Regions from separate parts of the Homo sapiens genome. Here regions 1, 2 and 3 are each linked to region 4. Evidence: promoter capture Hi-C in human tissues and cell types (Jung and others, 2019). All regions are on one chromosome and are shown on one strand. The core of a region is centred on a gene start or on the middle of the fragment in contact, and the rest is flanking DNA. Distances in the headings are between cores, read along the strand shown.

Region 1 (3,889 bases), core at 1,033-3,532, 470 kb after region 4:
GAGGAAGATAGATGGTGAATGGCCCGGCTCCAGAAAAGACAGCAAATGTGTCCTTCCTCTGCCTTTTGTTCCATCCCAGACCTCAAGCGGATTGGATGATGGTCACCCACATTGTTGAGGGCAGAGCTTCTCACTCTGCGCTAATTCAAATGAGAATCTCTTCCAGAGCATCCTCACAGACACACCCAGAAATGGTGTTTTACCAGCTATCTGGGTATTCCATAATCTGGTCAAGTTGGCACCTAACACTAACCATCACATATGGGTGAAAATATAGTACAGCTATATGAGGACATTTTCAACTCGTTTTCAGTAATTAAATATGTGGTGATCATTTTAGTGTTGTTATTCCATGACTGTAAAGTATATAATGTGGACTAAAGCTTACTTAGCCCTATTAGAGAAGTCTAGAAACAGTCACCTAACCTGTAGCAATGAGCATTAGACTTCAATTTAAAACATCATGTCCCACTAAGAGAAACTAGGGCTTCTTGGAGAAATCGCTGAATTTCAGATCTAGGGAAGGAAATGTACAAGAGGAGCCTAAAACATCTTGTCTTTCTACATAGCAAGGAAGCTATCAAGTACTGCTAGGATCCTGCAAGGAAAGAATCAGGAATCAAACTGAAGAAGCTTTTATCGGCAAAAGAAGGTACATTCAGAGCTTCAAAAAGGAAAATACATAATTGCAAGTGTCTGGAATTCCTCAACTATGTTCAAACCTATAAGTTCAAAGTGATATTTTAGAAAACTAAAGCATGTCAAAGAACAAATTCATTATACTGAAAACTGGTAAATAAAAGAAAAGAATCAAAAATTTGCTCTGCCTTTCATATATCAACTGTGTCACTGGGTAACAGATAGTAGACGAGGGGAACTGTCTCCTTATAAAAGGAGTCTAATAAGTAAAAAAAAAAAAAAAAAAACGATAGAATATCACCATTGGGTGGGCACAGTGCCTCACACCTGTAATCCCAGCACTTTGGGAGGCCGAGGTGGGAGGATTGCTTGAGCTCAGGCGTTCAATACCAGCCTGGGCAACATGGTGAAACCCCATCTCTACAAAAAATACAAAAATTAGCCAGGCATGGTGGTGTGCATCTGTAGTCCCAGCTACTGGGGAGGCTAAGGCAGGAGGAGCGCTTGATCCCACGAGGCTGGAAGCTGCAGTGAGCCGAGATCCCACCACTTCACTCTGGCCTGGGCAATAGAGCGAGACCCCATCTCAAAAAATAAGATAGAACTTAAAAAAAGAATATCATCATTTAGCCACACCCAGTGAATTAATAGATCTGATCTTTGAGCATCAACAACTGCTAACATTATAAAACGGGATACTACCAGACCCTATGGTCTTCATCATGAAGACCACAACACTTCCTGTACCCTTGCTGAAGGGATCAAACCTGAAGGAGATCAAGCTCTGTATCCAGCTGTAAATGTTTAGGAAAACAGAGGAATATTTTGAACTGTGCCTGAGTATTCAGCCAACAAAATCTAGATTGAGAGAAACTCTACAGGAATCTATGGGTCAGGAAACCCATGTGAGGACTCTGCCACTTACTAAGTATGTCTGCTCCCTATGCTATACATACAGTCATGCATGGCTTAACTATGGGGACATGTTCTGAGAAATGTGTCATCACATAATTTCACTGTTGTGGGATCATCATTGTGTGTACTTACACCAGCTGGATGAAGTAGCCTACTACACATCTGTGCTATGTGGTAGAGCCATACAGGATACAAATCTATACTGCATGTTACTGTACTGAACACTGTAAGAAATTGTAACACAATGGTAAGTATTTGCATATCTAAACTTACCTAAACATAGAAAAGGTATGGTTAAAAAAAAGGGTATAAAATATTTTAATGGTACATCTGTATAGGGCAGCTTCACTATAATCTTATTGGACTATAGTCATATATATGGTCTGCTGTTGATCAGCATCGTTATGCAGAAATGACTGCACTTGGACTGGGAAAATAACCACAGAACGGGACTGCAATCCCAATGGACTCACAGTGAGACAGACTAGGGCAAGACACCATCATTTATCTGTCTGGAATAAGTTCCCCTTCAGACCAGTGGACCATAGCAGCATTTCAAATCTCAGTATTAGCATCAGTTCAGAGACAATATCTAACAGCCCCTGGATCTTCCTTCCCCTAATTCACAGTTGCCCTGGCAAATGGCTGACGATCCTACTGGAAAACACTTAAGATTCATAGTACACAACTGTGGAAGGTTACATAGTGCTTTCTCAAAAATACCTGGCCAAATTCCCAGTCAAAGGGTTCCGGTGGTTGGGAAGTGGTTTAGGCCTGGAAACCAAGAAAGAAGCAATGAATGCCCACTACAGCAACTCAAGTTAGATTTATGCCCAACAGACCCAGGGTTTTTTCATTTATGCTTGCAGTACCTTAGTGGGCTGTCCATCTATTTCATTTTACATGTCTCATGATTAGTTAGCTATCACTATACATCTTTTTGAGACAAGATGCTCTGATTACTATTCTGATTGTGTAGCTTTTGGGGTAAAGTTGTCCACGTAGTCTGATGTTTAAGCATTTCCACTGGCCTCTCCCACTTTGAGACCCTCATTGTTCACACTGAGATCAAGAAATCTAATTACATTGCAGCATCTCCCCACATCATCTACAGTCTACAGAGGACAACTGGTCATTAAAGAGATTCTCAAGGATGGCAGTAACCCACACCATTGTATTTCTTTTTTAACAGCCTTATTGAGGTATAGTTCACATACCATACAATGCACCCAATAAAGTGTAAATTAAATGTTTTTGAACATATTAGAGTTGTGCAACCATCATCCCAATGAATTTTAGAACATTTTCCTCATCACCGCAACCAACCCCTAAAAAACCCATAGCCATTAGCAATCACTCCCTGTTTCCCACTAACCTCAGACAGAGGCAACCATTAATATACTTTCTGTTTCTATAGATTTGCCTGTTCTGGACATTGCATGTAAATGAAATCACCTGATAAGATTTCATAATATGATTCAAAAGATCACAGTATGATCTTTTGTGACTGGTTTCTTTTACTTTGCATAATGTTTTCTAGATTCATCCATGTTATAGAATGTATCAGCACTTCATTCCTTTTTTATGGCCAAATAATATTCCATTATGGATATACCTACCACATTTTGTTAATCCATTCATTACTTGATGGACATTAAGCTCTCTTCACTTGTTTGCAATTATTAATAATGCTTCTATGAGCATTAGTATACAAGTTTTGGTGTCGACCAAATATATGTGGACATATATTTTCATTTCTCTTGGGCATATAGGAGTGCTGAGTAATATGGTACCTCTATGTTTAACATTTTGATGATCTGCCAAACTATTTTACAGAGAAGTTGCACCATTTTACATACCATAAGCAACATATGAGGGTTCCAATTTTTCCACTGTCTTACCAATACTTGCTATTATCTGTCTTTTTTTTTTTTTATGATAGTCATCCTAGTGAGTATGAAGTGGTATCTCATTGTGGTTTCACTTTGTATTTCCCTGATGACTAATGAAGTTGGGCATCTTCTCATATGCATATTGGCCAGTTGTATATCTTTGGAGATGTGTCTATTCAAATCCTTTGCTCATTTTAAAATTTTGTTCTTTTTTCATTATTGAATTATAAGAGGTTTTTTTGTTGTTTGTTTGTTTGTTTTGAGACGGAGTTTCGCTCTGTCACCCAAGCTGGAGTGCAGTGGCATGATCTAGGCTCACTGCAACCTCCACCTCCCCAGTTCAAGCGATTATTCTGCCTCAGCCTCCCAAGTAGCTGGGACTACAGGTGCGTGCCACCATGCCCGGCTAATTTTTGTATTTTTAGTAAAGACGAGGTTTCACC
Region 2 (3,529 bases), core at 428-2,927, 320 kb before region 4:
AAGTCATTTTCAGAAGATTGAAATCACACTTTTGTGTTCTGAGAATAACCTGTGGCGTAAACCAGAACACCACCTTCTTAGCCGGGCAACACCGTTTGGCCCATCAACAGGAAGTCTGCCAAAGCCAAGGGTGGGCTCATACAACACATTATGAACAAGAAATGTTGAAATGATTCACAATGACTGGGCCACCCACCCACCTGGGGGATCCCGTGACACCGACAACTCAGGTAATGAAATCACATGGGCTTGGGGAACAGAGAACTGGGTTCAAATCCTGGTTCCTCCACTTCTTAGAGCAAGTCACGTCATCTCAGAAACTTCTTCAATTGTCTAATCTAGAAAATAGAGCTAAAAACACTACTCATCCTACAGGGACGTTCAGTGGACTAAGATGGGGACAAGAATGCAAAGCATTCCACATAGTGCTTTACGGAACGTTAACTCTTTTTGAAAACTGGAGACTCAGTACAGTGAGCTGGGTTGTCTCCAGCTGTTTGATCCATTGGCTTCCGATGTTCTGAGGAATATACAACTCAGGGGACATGAGACAACTGGCACAGACAAAGGGCGAGGAGAGCCAAAAAGAAAAGATGTAAATGGGAATTGCAGAGAAAAAGAGGGAAAAGAGAACGACTCTCCACCTGACTGTAAATAAGGCATATTTATACGGAGACAGCAGTTCACAACCAACCTAAGTTGGATATACTTCTAAAAATCTACCCAGATTAAAAGGGTCATGAAATCTATTTTGGTTGCTGTGCATTCTCTGACATCCCAGAGGGAAAGCTTAGCATGACCACGAGGTAACCAACACCATGGAAACTGGCCTCAGAGTGCTGGAGTCAGGTCAGCTTGTCAGCAACATGGAGGTGGGGCTGCTCTGACCCCACTCACAGCCGTGTCAGAAGGAATGAGGTGGGGAAAGCCAGGTGATGGCATGAAACAGAACATGAAGCTTCGGACACACTAGGGAGTGGAGAGGAATGAAGGTCTTAAAGGGAACATCTTGGACAAACCAACCTTTTTTCATTGGGTGGTACAACTCCGGCTGAGTGTCTAGCAGAAAGGAAAACAATAAAAAACAAAATAAAATAGCACAAAAGGAGATTAAAAAAGAAAATGGCTTCTTTTAAAATTTCTATCTTAGAATTTCTCTATAATGTGAACAAAAAGTATTCCTCCTTAAAAACACCCTGCCTGAAATATCCCATAAACAAACCAGCAGTATGAGCCACAGCAAATCACTGGAGGGTATCCTTGATAAGAGAGAAAAAAGTAGGTCTGTCTTGTGCCTTTTTAGGGAAACTGGGAGATGCCTGCACTATTTAGCTTAGCCCACATAATTATTTTTCTTAGAAAAAAGTGAAAATTGAAGTTAAGTGTTGGTTGTGGTTTGCTGACAGGGAGATAAGGTCCTAGTTCAGGTATATCCAAGCTGCCCCGACCCCCAACAAGCACATAAGAAGTTGTCCAAGCATGGCCACCCGACAAACCCACAGAGATTTGGGGATAGCATGGTGCCTCTTCATCTACCACCCCAAAAACCCACGGAGATTTGCGGGTGGCATGGCGCCTTTTCATCTATCTGCCACTTCCTCAGATCCTGTTTTATTTCTGGAGAGTCAACTGCTCTGGGATCGCTAGTTTAGAAAGCATTTCCATTAAGGTCTGAAGGCTAAGCTGGATGTACCTCCATCCCCCCACCCCTAATTTGATGCCTTCCTGAGGCCTCTGTTCCAGTGCTATATCCAGTCAGGTCTGTGACTGCAGGACCAGATCAGCTTGGATTCGACCCCTGACTCTCCACTTATAAGCTACATGACCTCGGGCAAGTTACTTAATCTCTTTATACCTCAGAATCCCCACATGGGGACACTCGACTACCCACCTGCGAGGGTTACTGTGAGGATGGAGAGCATCCGCTGAGATGCTTAGCTAAAGCTGGCATATAACAAGGACTACGGCATAGCTGTGGGCCATTCTTATCATTACCCTGTCAGCAGCAACAGCAACAAACAGAACTGATGAGGGGGACGGCTCTCAGGGCACTGGTCTCAGCAACTTGTTTATTTCTGGAGCAGACTCACAGCTTTTAGAGATCCTCTTAGACACTGAGAACCAGCAGGGGAATAGAGGAAAGAACGTCTGCCTAGGACCCAGAGGAACAGCTTCTTATCCCCACCTCATGTCAGAGATATGACCCACGCCAGCCCTGTCACCTCCTCAGCCTCTCCAGCACCTACCTCCCAAGACGGCTGGGCAAAGGTAACACCATAACAGGAAGGCGCTGTTTCAACTGCCAAGTGCCTCCCCCATGTAAGGAAGTGCACAAGTTGGAAGAAGTGGGGGTTTGAAGCCACCCATCTTGAAATGGGAGAATTAGTCTTAACTTCATGGTGACATTGACACCAATGATTTGAAAGCATCTAGCAGGGTCCTTGCACACAGTAGGCGCTCAATGAATCCAGTCTCCCTTCCCCTGACTCTCGCAGGAACACCATCTCCCAACTCAATTTGGTTTTCGAAAAACTGACTTCAATTCTCTCATTTTGTCCTCCCCCTGCTGCCCAGAAGTGGCACCGTCGCCCATACACACCTTCGTTCTCAGGTAGGGCTGGGAAGGGGTGGAAGGGGTGGAACGGTGGGATCTCCTCACTCTCCTCAGAGCTCACCCGGACGTCCACAGGGGTCTCTGAGATTGAGGCAGTGAACTGGTCCATATCTGCACGCTGCTCCTGAAGGAGCTCATCTGATGAAGACAGGGCAGGGGACAGAAAGCAGGCTTCAGAAGGGCCTGGTGTCCAGGCACAGGATGCTCTAGAGCTCCAAGACCCCACTGTGGCTCCCAGTTCCTGCCTGAAACACCTTCCTTGATTCTGTGGCACCACAGAGCCCCAACACCAGGGACCCCAGGGCGCCGTCCCAGGCACCCCTGCATCCACCTCCACACTCCAGTTAAGTGGTATCCACAACTCCACAGATTTTGGGGGTTTAAAAAATTGTACATATTTAAGGTCTAAAATATAATGCTTTGATATACATATACACCATGAAATGATTTCCATAGTCAAGCAAACACACACATCACCTTCCAGAATTACTTTTTTTTAAAAATAAGAATACCTCAAATCTACTCTCGGCAAATTTTTAGTATATAGTACGATATTACTAACTACAGTCCTCATGCTGTCCATCCCATCTCTAGACGTATCCACCCCACGTAACTACAACTACCACTTCATACCCTCTGACCTACTTCTCCCCGACGCCAGTTTTAAATACTGACCATATACCATGACTCCCAGGCCCGAATCCTGGACCTACTGCCTGACCTCTGCCTCACCTAAATCCTACATCCCCACATAACATCCAACAGAAATTTCTATCTTAACATGTATCAAGAGAGCTCCGGATTTCCTTCTCCACCTCAGTCAGCCATGGTACCACCATCCCCGAGCTGCTCCCAGTGGAACCCTAAGTGCACTTCTTGATGCCGCTCCCCCAACCCCACACGCAGCCCTGGGCG
Region 3 (3,565 bases), core at 680-3,179, 390 kb before region 4:
AGCAAGGTGGTGGCAGTGCAGATAGAAGAGAGTAGAGATGTTTCAGGAACACCCAGGAGGCGAGCATGTAGCTGAAAGGGTCTCATGGGACGGGGGAGAGGGGAGAGCCATCCTTGTCCCTCTAGCTCAATTCCCCGTGACCCCAACACTCAGCATGGACACCCCCATCCAGCTCTTTGCCCTGTGCCTGCGGGTTTCCACCTCCCTCCTCCAAGCCCGCCCTGTTCACCTGGCGACCTCAGCTCAAGACCCCGCTTTCATGAAGCCCTGTCTGCAAACCCAGCCAATCGGTAAGTCTGACAGTATTTGATTCTATCAGCAGACTCAGCCTCTAACGTTTAAGGCATGCACGTCTACCAGCAGCTGAGAGACTGATTGTGAAGATGCAGCCACTGATATCCCCCATGGTGACCCCAGGGGCTGGAGTGCAGTTGGGAATCGCTAGTGCTCAGGTAGAACTTCTGATGTCCCAAGCACAATTCTCGATGCTGACACAGTAAGTTGTTTTATCCCTGAAACAGTCCTGTGAGGTAGGGTCGCGCTTTTTAAGATGAGGACTCAAGCACAGAGAGGGCAACTTGCCGAAGATCATATAGCTAACACGCTGTAGACCACAACTGCAACCTAGGCAGCCTGTGCATTTAACCGCAACGTGATGCCGCCTCCCGGCAGTGCCCAATGAATGCATGATGACTTAGCCATGTGCTCAGGGTCCCTTGACACCATGCCCCTGCACATCTCACACCTCCCTGCCTCTGCACACGACACTCCCTTTGTCTGGAAGGTCTGAGCCACCTGGTCCAGCTGACAGACACCCTCACCTTCAACCCTCAGTTCAGACACCCATGTTGAGTGTTCCCAACAGTCACCCCCCGAGTCCCTCAGGCATATGGGTTTAGAATTCTAAACTCCACATGCTGGGCCCAAGGGAGCCTGGACACAGCCCTGCCACAGCACTTACTGCACATGTGTGTCATGTCTTGTCCCTACCCTTACAAGTCTGTGACCCACAATCTGCAGGGACCAAGTCCTATTCATGTTGGTCTCTCTAGTGTCAATAGTAACCAGGGGTGTTGAAGATTAATTGCACTACTCGTTGGCAGAAGCATGACTGATGATCAACACACGATGAAGGAGAAGGAAATGAGAAAGAAAGCAACGAAGCAAAGGAAAAGAGGAAGCAGTGCAGGATGGCAGGGCAGTTCTTAGTATGCACCCAGCCATTTCCTAGCTCTACCTGCTAACTGGGCCTGGACATGACACCATGGTGACAATGAACACACTAAGCAACCGGACCTTGGTCTCTAAATACCATTCCCAGTAAAGGACTCCTTGGAGAAATGGCTGGTCCTAGGGCTGGGCTGGGGAAACATAAGATGAGCCTATTGTACCTGGTAGTGCCAGAAAGCAAGGACATGGCTCAAAAAAGGAAAGAATGGGGCATATCAAAGAGGCACAAAAGCCAACCTCAAAGAGAAGTGGTTGGGCCAGGCATGGTGGCTCACATCTGTAATGCCAGCACTTTGGGAGGCCAAGATGGGAGGATCACTTCAGCCTAGGAGGTGGAGGCCAAGCTTAGCAACTTAGCAAGGCTCTGTCTCTACAAAAATTTTAAACTAGCTGGGCATGGTGGCATGTGCCTGTAGTCCCAGCTACTCAGGAGGCTGAAGCAGGAGGATTGCTCAAGCCCAGGAGTTCAAGACTGTAGCAAGCTATGATTTGCACCACTGAACTTCAGCCTGGGTGACACAGTGAGACAAGGGACAGCCTCAGGCTGGACAAAGCCACGTGTCAAGCACCCAGCGAAGCTGGGGACCATGGAACTGGGTCCACTCCCCACAGGCTCTTGCTGTCCATCTCCATCACCCAAGCCCTGTGCATGGGTCTGAGCACACTCCATCTGTGCCTCAGGCCTCCCTCCTGCTGTGGGCCCATCTCTCCTCCCTGCAAAGGGCAGCTGAGGGCTTGGGTCACCTGCTCCTGGAGCTGCCTACCATGGAAAAGCGTGCAGCCAGCAGAAAGCGCATCCCCTTCTTCCGAGGTTGGATTCTCCTGGAAGGCCCATGCCCCTGTGCCTGCCTCTTCAGGGCAAGCCAGGCCCTAACACTCCTTCCTTCAGCCAACAGCCAGACGCCCAGAGAGGCCAGGAGCTAAGACACAAATAGCGCAGCCCGGCATTGTGCCCCTGTTCCTGGGATGCCCATGTGACCCTTCCAGGCCTCTCATCTGTCTGTGTGTCTGAGGCCATGACATGCTGAGCACCTACTATGTGCCAGGCACAGCGCAAAGTGTCTCAAGTACAGCATTGTATTTAATTCTCACAACTCTAAGGGTGGGAGCTGATACTGTCACTATCATTGGTGAAGAACCCAAGGCCTAGGAAGTTTGAATAACCTGCCCAGGGCCACCGGCAAGCCAGAGCTGGAGCATGAATCCAAAGCTCACGTTGGCCAATCCGAGGAGTTGCACAGTGCAGACTCACCGGAGACCACACCTGTGCTCAAGTCTGGCTCTGCCACTTAACAGCTGTGCCACCCCAAGCAAACGTCCCTACTTCTCTGAACCTTACTTTCTGTAGTGAGGATACAATCAAGCTGCCTAACTTGCTAGGGGGTTTTAGGAGAGGCACAGAGACAGCACTTGGCTGCAAGTGGGCACCGAATACAGTGAGTTTTTATTATTACTGTTATTGAGCCCCGTCCTGGGATATCTGCTCATTTGGTTTGGATGCTTGTCCCCTCCAAATCTCATGTTGAAATGGGATCCCCAGTGTTGGAGGTGGGGCGTGGTAGGAGGTGTTTTGGTCACGGTTCCCTCATGAATGTTTTGGTGCCCTTCCCATGGTGATGGGTGAGTTCTGAGTTCACACGAGGCTGGCTGCTTAAGAGTCTAGGACCTCCTCCTGCTCTCTCTTGCTCCTGTTCTCGCCATGTGATGTGCCTTCTCCCCCTTCACCTTCTGCCATGGATGGAAGCTCCCTGAGGCCCTCACCAGAAGCAGAGGCTGGCACCACGCTTCCTATACAGCCTGCAGAACCATGGGCCAAATAAACTCTTTTCTTTATAAATGACCCAGTCTCAGGTATTTCTTTAGAGCAACTCAAGAATGGACTAACACATGTGGCCACCCCTCCAGTGCCCTGCCTCGGTGCCAACCTATCCTGGCATTACTCCCAGATGCAAAGGGCCAGCAAGGAGGCTCCCTGCTGCCCACCCAGAGACCCACCTGAATCCTCTGTCATCGATGTAGCAGTGTGCGGCAGAGACCAGCCAGTTGGGAGAGATGAGGGAAGCACCGCAGATGTGGCCCTGGCCCAGAGCATGCAGGCTTACCTGCCAGGGCCACTCGCCCTCATCCGCATCCGTGCCCCCAACAACACGAGCCTGTCTCGTGAATGACCGCAGCCCACAGTCTGCAGAGGGAGCAGAGAACCAGAGGACAGCAAGTCAAGGTGGGGACATCAAACCACAAGGGGACATGCAGTGTGTGCCAGGAGACCCTGTGTGGGGAAGCCAGCTTTTGGCGTGCACAGCACTGCTGGCGTGGCCAGGGCGTGAGGGACCCC
Region 4 (4,049 bases), core at 1,414-3,913:
TTTCCATCTCCTCATTTTTGAAATACGGATTCTAATCTGACCTGAACAGTGCTGTTTACAAACATCGCCTTGTGCTCTATAAAGCCCCATTATGATTTCAACAACCAGCAAGATAATGGCTTATGATATCTAAGTCCTGGCAAGGAGAATGCGGGTGTGTACCTTGCTATATTCAGTTGAACTCTGCATCACATACAGAAGGCTGATAGACCTTTTAGCTTTCCTTTTTCCTCCAGTAGTGTAGCTTGTGGCCATTTAAGTTTTACACAAGAGAATAGAAAAGAGAGATAAAATTTGCTAAAATTCAAATAGTCTATTTGTGTTTGTTTCTAGCCTCAGTGAAGGTTTTGGGGAGAGGGGTAGCTGGTTAAAAGAGTAGAAGCTTAAGAGTTCAAAGAAAGTGTGAGGAGGACAGCACTCACCTGTGGCCTCTAATTGTTCATATTCAGTATGGTCTCATACTGGGAATAATCTAGTGTTTGTCTTATGATCTTTCTATAGAAACAAATATGGAATGTGTCTATAAGTACCATTAGTTGATGACACACTAGTGACTTTAATTCTCTTACAGTAAAAAGTTTTGCAATAGCAAGGACTTTGGCTAGGGGAGTGACTCTATGTGTGGTGAAACTGTCCTCACCCATTTTTCATTTGAGGAAAAGAGATAATCTTTTGATTACACCCAACACAGGTAACATCTGTACTTTGAACAGTTAAGTATAGCAGCTGATGTTTAACTGCAGGTAGGGGGGAGATGAGAAACAGAAATAACTGGTGCCAAATGTGAGATTCAATTACCTCGACCATCACAACCAACATCAACCAGAAGGGTGTGGGAGGAACTCATGGAATAAATGGGAACAGGTGTGGCCTGAGGATAAGTAAGTGGGGGCACTGTTTCCATCTTCATGAAGATGTGAGAGGAAATCAAAGCTCTTTAAAAAGAAGGAAATGGAATGCTTGGCTCCTGTAATATCAGAACAAATAATGCACAGCCAGAGGTCATGCCTCACCTTCTGCTTATCTCAGTCACCTCCACTTGTAAAATCAGTGGGCCATATTCAATAAAACCTTCATATCAGTTCCATATCTTTTCCCAGAAACCCCAGGAACAGAGGGAGCCAATATCCTTATTAAACCAAGAAGCTCACTGTCACAAAGAGCTAAGTCTGACGCCCCTGGGCCCCTACCTAACCACGTGTCCTGATTCTTTCCATAACTTCCCACTGCACAACATCCAGGTTATACTGAAGATATTACACATCTGGTTAAAAACAGTACACGTCTCTCATGAACAATAAGCCATCCTTTCTATTAAAATGAGTGTAAAATTGCAGGTAAAATGCTGTAGGCAGGCCTGTTTGGAAGGCTATGCGACCCTAGGAGACAAAAAGGTGCAGGAGGAGGAAAAGGGCAGACACCGCAGAAAGCGGTCGAAGAGAACGTGAAAGAAGTGGCCATTTCTAGCTGGGCGCGGTGGTTCACGCCTGTAATCCCAGCACTTTGGGAGGCTGAGGCGGGTGGATCATGAGGTCAGGAGATCGAGACCATCCTGGCTAACACGGTGAAACCCCGTCTCTACCAAAAAAAAAAAAAATACAAAAAATTAGCCGGGCGTGGTGGCGGGCGCCAGTAGTCCTAGCTACTCGGGAGGCTGAGGCAGGAGAATGGTGTGAACCCGGGAGGTGGAGCTTGCAGTGATCCGAGATTGCGCCACTGCACTCCAGCCTGGGCGACAGAGCGAGACTCCGTCTCAAAAAAAAAAAAAAAAAAAAAAAGAAGTGGCCATTTCTGCAACTTTTAGGAGAGCTACCTGCCCTCAAATTTTGAAAGGGTTTCTATTTCTTAAAGTGCTACGTTTCCCTGGCTGAAACTCACATCTTTCTTCCCTCTAGGGCTGGATCAAAGCTTCAGAGGTTGTTTCTCTGGCCCTAGACAGGGCCACCCCCGCAAATTTCTCCCCCACTGCGCCTGACATCCGCTTCCATCCATGGCTCCATTAACGGAAGCTAAGCACTGGCTCGGGGGACTTTATCCACCGCCCGGTGTTATTAGATTCCAGGCTTCCTGGCCTCAGGAAAGGATCTGGCTCGTGTATTTGTGTATCGCAGCTAACAAGGAAAGGCAGTCGGTACCAGTGCCCAGAGCTATGTGAGCTGTGACTGGTCACAGCCCAGGAGCCAGATGGCATCCCCGGGGGCGCGCGTCCCCGGACTCACCGGGCAGACGGAGGCCCGGGGCTTCACACCTTCCCCTCACCGGGCAACGCGGCAGACCTGACTCGCGGGGGACTGAGCAATATTCGTTCCAGGGCCGCGGCCAGCCGGACAGAGGCACTCGGGGGCGGTGGGAGTAGTGTGCGCACCGGTTCCGCAGCCCGGAGGGGGCCCCAGCTGGGCTTCCGCGACACCAGGGCCCTCCATCCCCTCCCGTCCTCCCCTAGCGCAGCCTTCACCCCTGTCCCAGAGCCCCTCCCTGTCCGCGTCCCCTCCCCCGCAGGTCCCCTGCGAGTCGGAACCTCCTCTCCATCACAGCCCCGCTCCTTGGCGGGGCCCCCTCTCCCTTCGAGCCCTCCTCCAGGTTCGAGCCCCCTGCGGGTACGGACGTCTGACCTGTGCCCAGCGCCTCGCAGCCGTCTGCAGCCCGCGCCGCGCGCCAAGTGCGTCCGCCCAGAAGCAGGTGCAGCTCCAGGCCCGCCCCGCCCCGCTGCGCCCCGCCCCGCTCCACTCCGCCAGGCCTGGCAGCCGCCAGCCCCTTTCCACCCTTGACCGCCCTTCCCGGTCCCGGCCAGCGTGCGGGGCATCTGTCGTCAGGTCCGCACTTCCTCCAGGCCTTTGACTTTCCCGTGGAGATGTCTCTGGCCTCAGGAACTCCCTAAGCTGTGTGCTTCAGGAGAGGCTGGTTCCTGAGTCACCCAAGAGGACTGCAACCAACCTGGACCTCCTGAGATGCAAAGAGATCGCAGGGCCTGGGAGGCGGCGAGGACCCTGAGAACAGGCTGTGGCTCCGAAGAGTGTTTGTTACCAAGCCAGGCAACCACTGCGAACACACCGCAGAAACAGCCACGGATCACCGTCCAGCAAAGGAAGAAGGTGCCAACGGTCCATCAGGGACCACAACCCAGTTTTTTTAGTTTAAGTTTGGTGGCTAAGTTTGAGTGTCACATAGTTCATTCATTCCTTCATTCATTCAACAAATCTGCCATGTTCCCATCTGATAACAGATCTGACAGGTGGGCACTGTTCTAGGTGCTGGCGATAGAGCTAAGAAGGAAACAAAGTTCCTGTCCCGGAGAAGGGGGCTACCTGCTGAGGAGAGCATGACTTTCTTTGTGGTATTGTGCTGTGGCAGCAGGGTCCTCTTCTGTAAGCTACTGAGAGGTGAAACCCGCTGGGCTTCTGGGTCGGATGGGGACTTGGAGAACTTTTCTGTCTAGCTAAAGGATTGTAAAAGCATCAATCTGCACTCTGTGTCTAGCTAAAGGTTTGTAAACACACCAATCAGCACTCTGTAAAAATGCACCAATCAGTGCTCTGTGTCCAGCTAATTGGTGGGGACTTGGAGAACTTTTCTCTCTAGCCAAAGGATTGTAAATGCACCAATCAATGCTCTATGTCTAGCTAAAGGTTTGTAAACACATCAATCAGCACTCTGTAAAAACGGACCAATCAGCACTCTGTAAAATGGACCAATCAGCACTCTGTAAAATGGACCAATCAGCGCTCTGTAAAATGGACCAATCAGGAGGATGTGGGCAGGACCAATCAGGAGGATGTGGGCGGGGCCAATGAGGGAATAAAAGCTGGCCATCCGAGCCAGCGGCAGCTGCGTTTGGGTCCCCTTCGATGGTGTTGGGGTTTTGTTGTTTCGCTCTTTGCAATAAATTTTGCTGTTGCTCACCTTTTAGGTCCACACTACCTTTATGAGCTTTAACACTCACAGTGAAGGTCTGCAGGTTCACTCCTGTAAACCAGCGAGACCAGGAAGCCACCACAAGAAACAACTCTGGAGCCGCCACCTTTAAGAGCCATAACACTCACTGTGAAGGT

Evidence for each region. Contacts are between HindIII fragments. The study calls those that stand out against the background at their distance.
Region 1: a contact is called between a fragment that was not itself captured here and the fragment with the promoter of TMEM45B in region 4, in 1 of the 25 tissues and cell types used here (dorsolateral prefrontal cortex).
Region 2: a contact is called between a fragment that was not itself captured here and the fragment with the promoter of TMEM45B in region 4, in 1 of the 25 tissues and cell types used here (H1 embryonic stem cells).
Region 3: a fragment that was not itself captured here is called in contact with the fragment with the promoter of TMEM45B in region 4 in 1 of the 25 tissues and cell types used here (pancreas).

The regions. Positions count from the first base shown.
Region 1 is chr11:129,346,765-129,350,653 of GRCh38, reverse strand. No RefSeq gene overlaps it. Among named protein-coding and RNA genes, the nearest start is that of BARX2, 27 kb to the left of the region's middle. The HindIII fragment of the contact is 3,548 bases long and covers 509-3,889 here.
Region 2 is chr11:130,134,786-130,138,314 of GRCh38, reverse strand. It overlaps APLP2 (amyloid beta precursor like protein 2), which reads right to left. Exons shown (of 17, transcript NM_001142276.2): 13 at 2,600-2,752. Among named protein-coding and RNA genes, the nearest start is that of ST14, 23 kb to the left of the region's middle. The HindIII fragment of the contact is 3,426 bases long and covers 1-3,390 here.
Region 3 is chr11:130,199,798-130,203,362 of GRCh38, reverse strand. ST14 (ST14 transmembrane serine protease matriptase) reads right to left here. Exons shown (of 19, transcript NM_021978.4): 16 at 3,226-3,412. Among named protein-coding and RNA genes, the nearest start is that of ST14, 42 kb to the right of the region's middle. The HindIII fragment of the contact is 6,598 bases long and covers 1-3,565 here.
Region 4 is chr11:129,814,462-129,818,510 of GRCh38, reverse strand. It overlaps TMEM45B (transmembrane protein 45B), which reads right to left and starts at 2,663. Exons shown (of 6, transcript NM_138788.5): 1 at 2,613-2,663. It overlaps LOC124902793 (a long non-coding RNA gene), which reads left to right and starts at 3,824. Exons shown (of 2, transcript XR_007062952.1): 1 at 3,824-4,049. The HindIII fragment of the contact is 7,942 bases long and covers 1,146-4,049 here.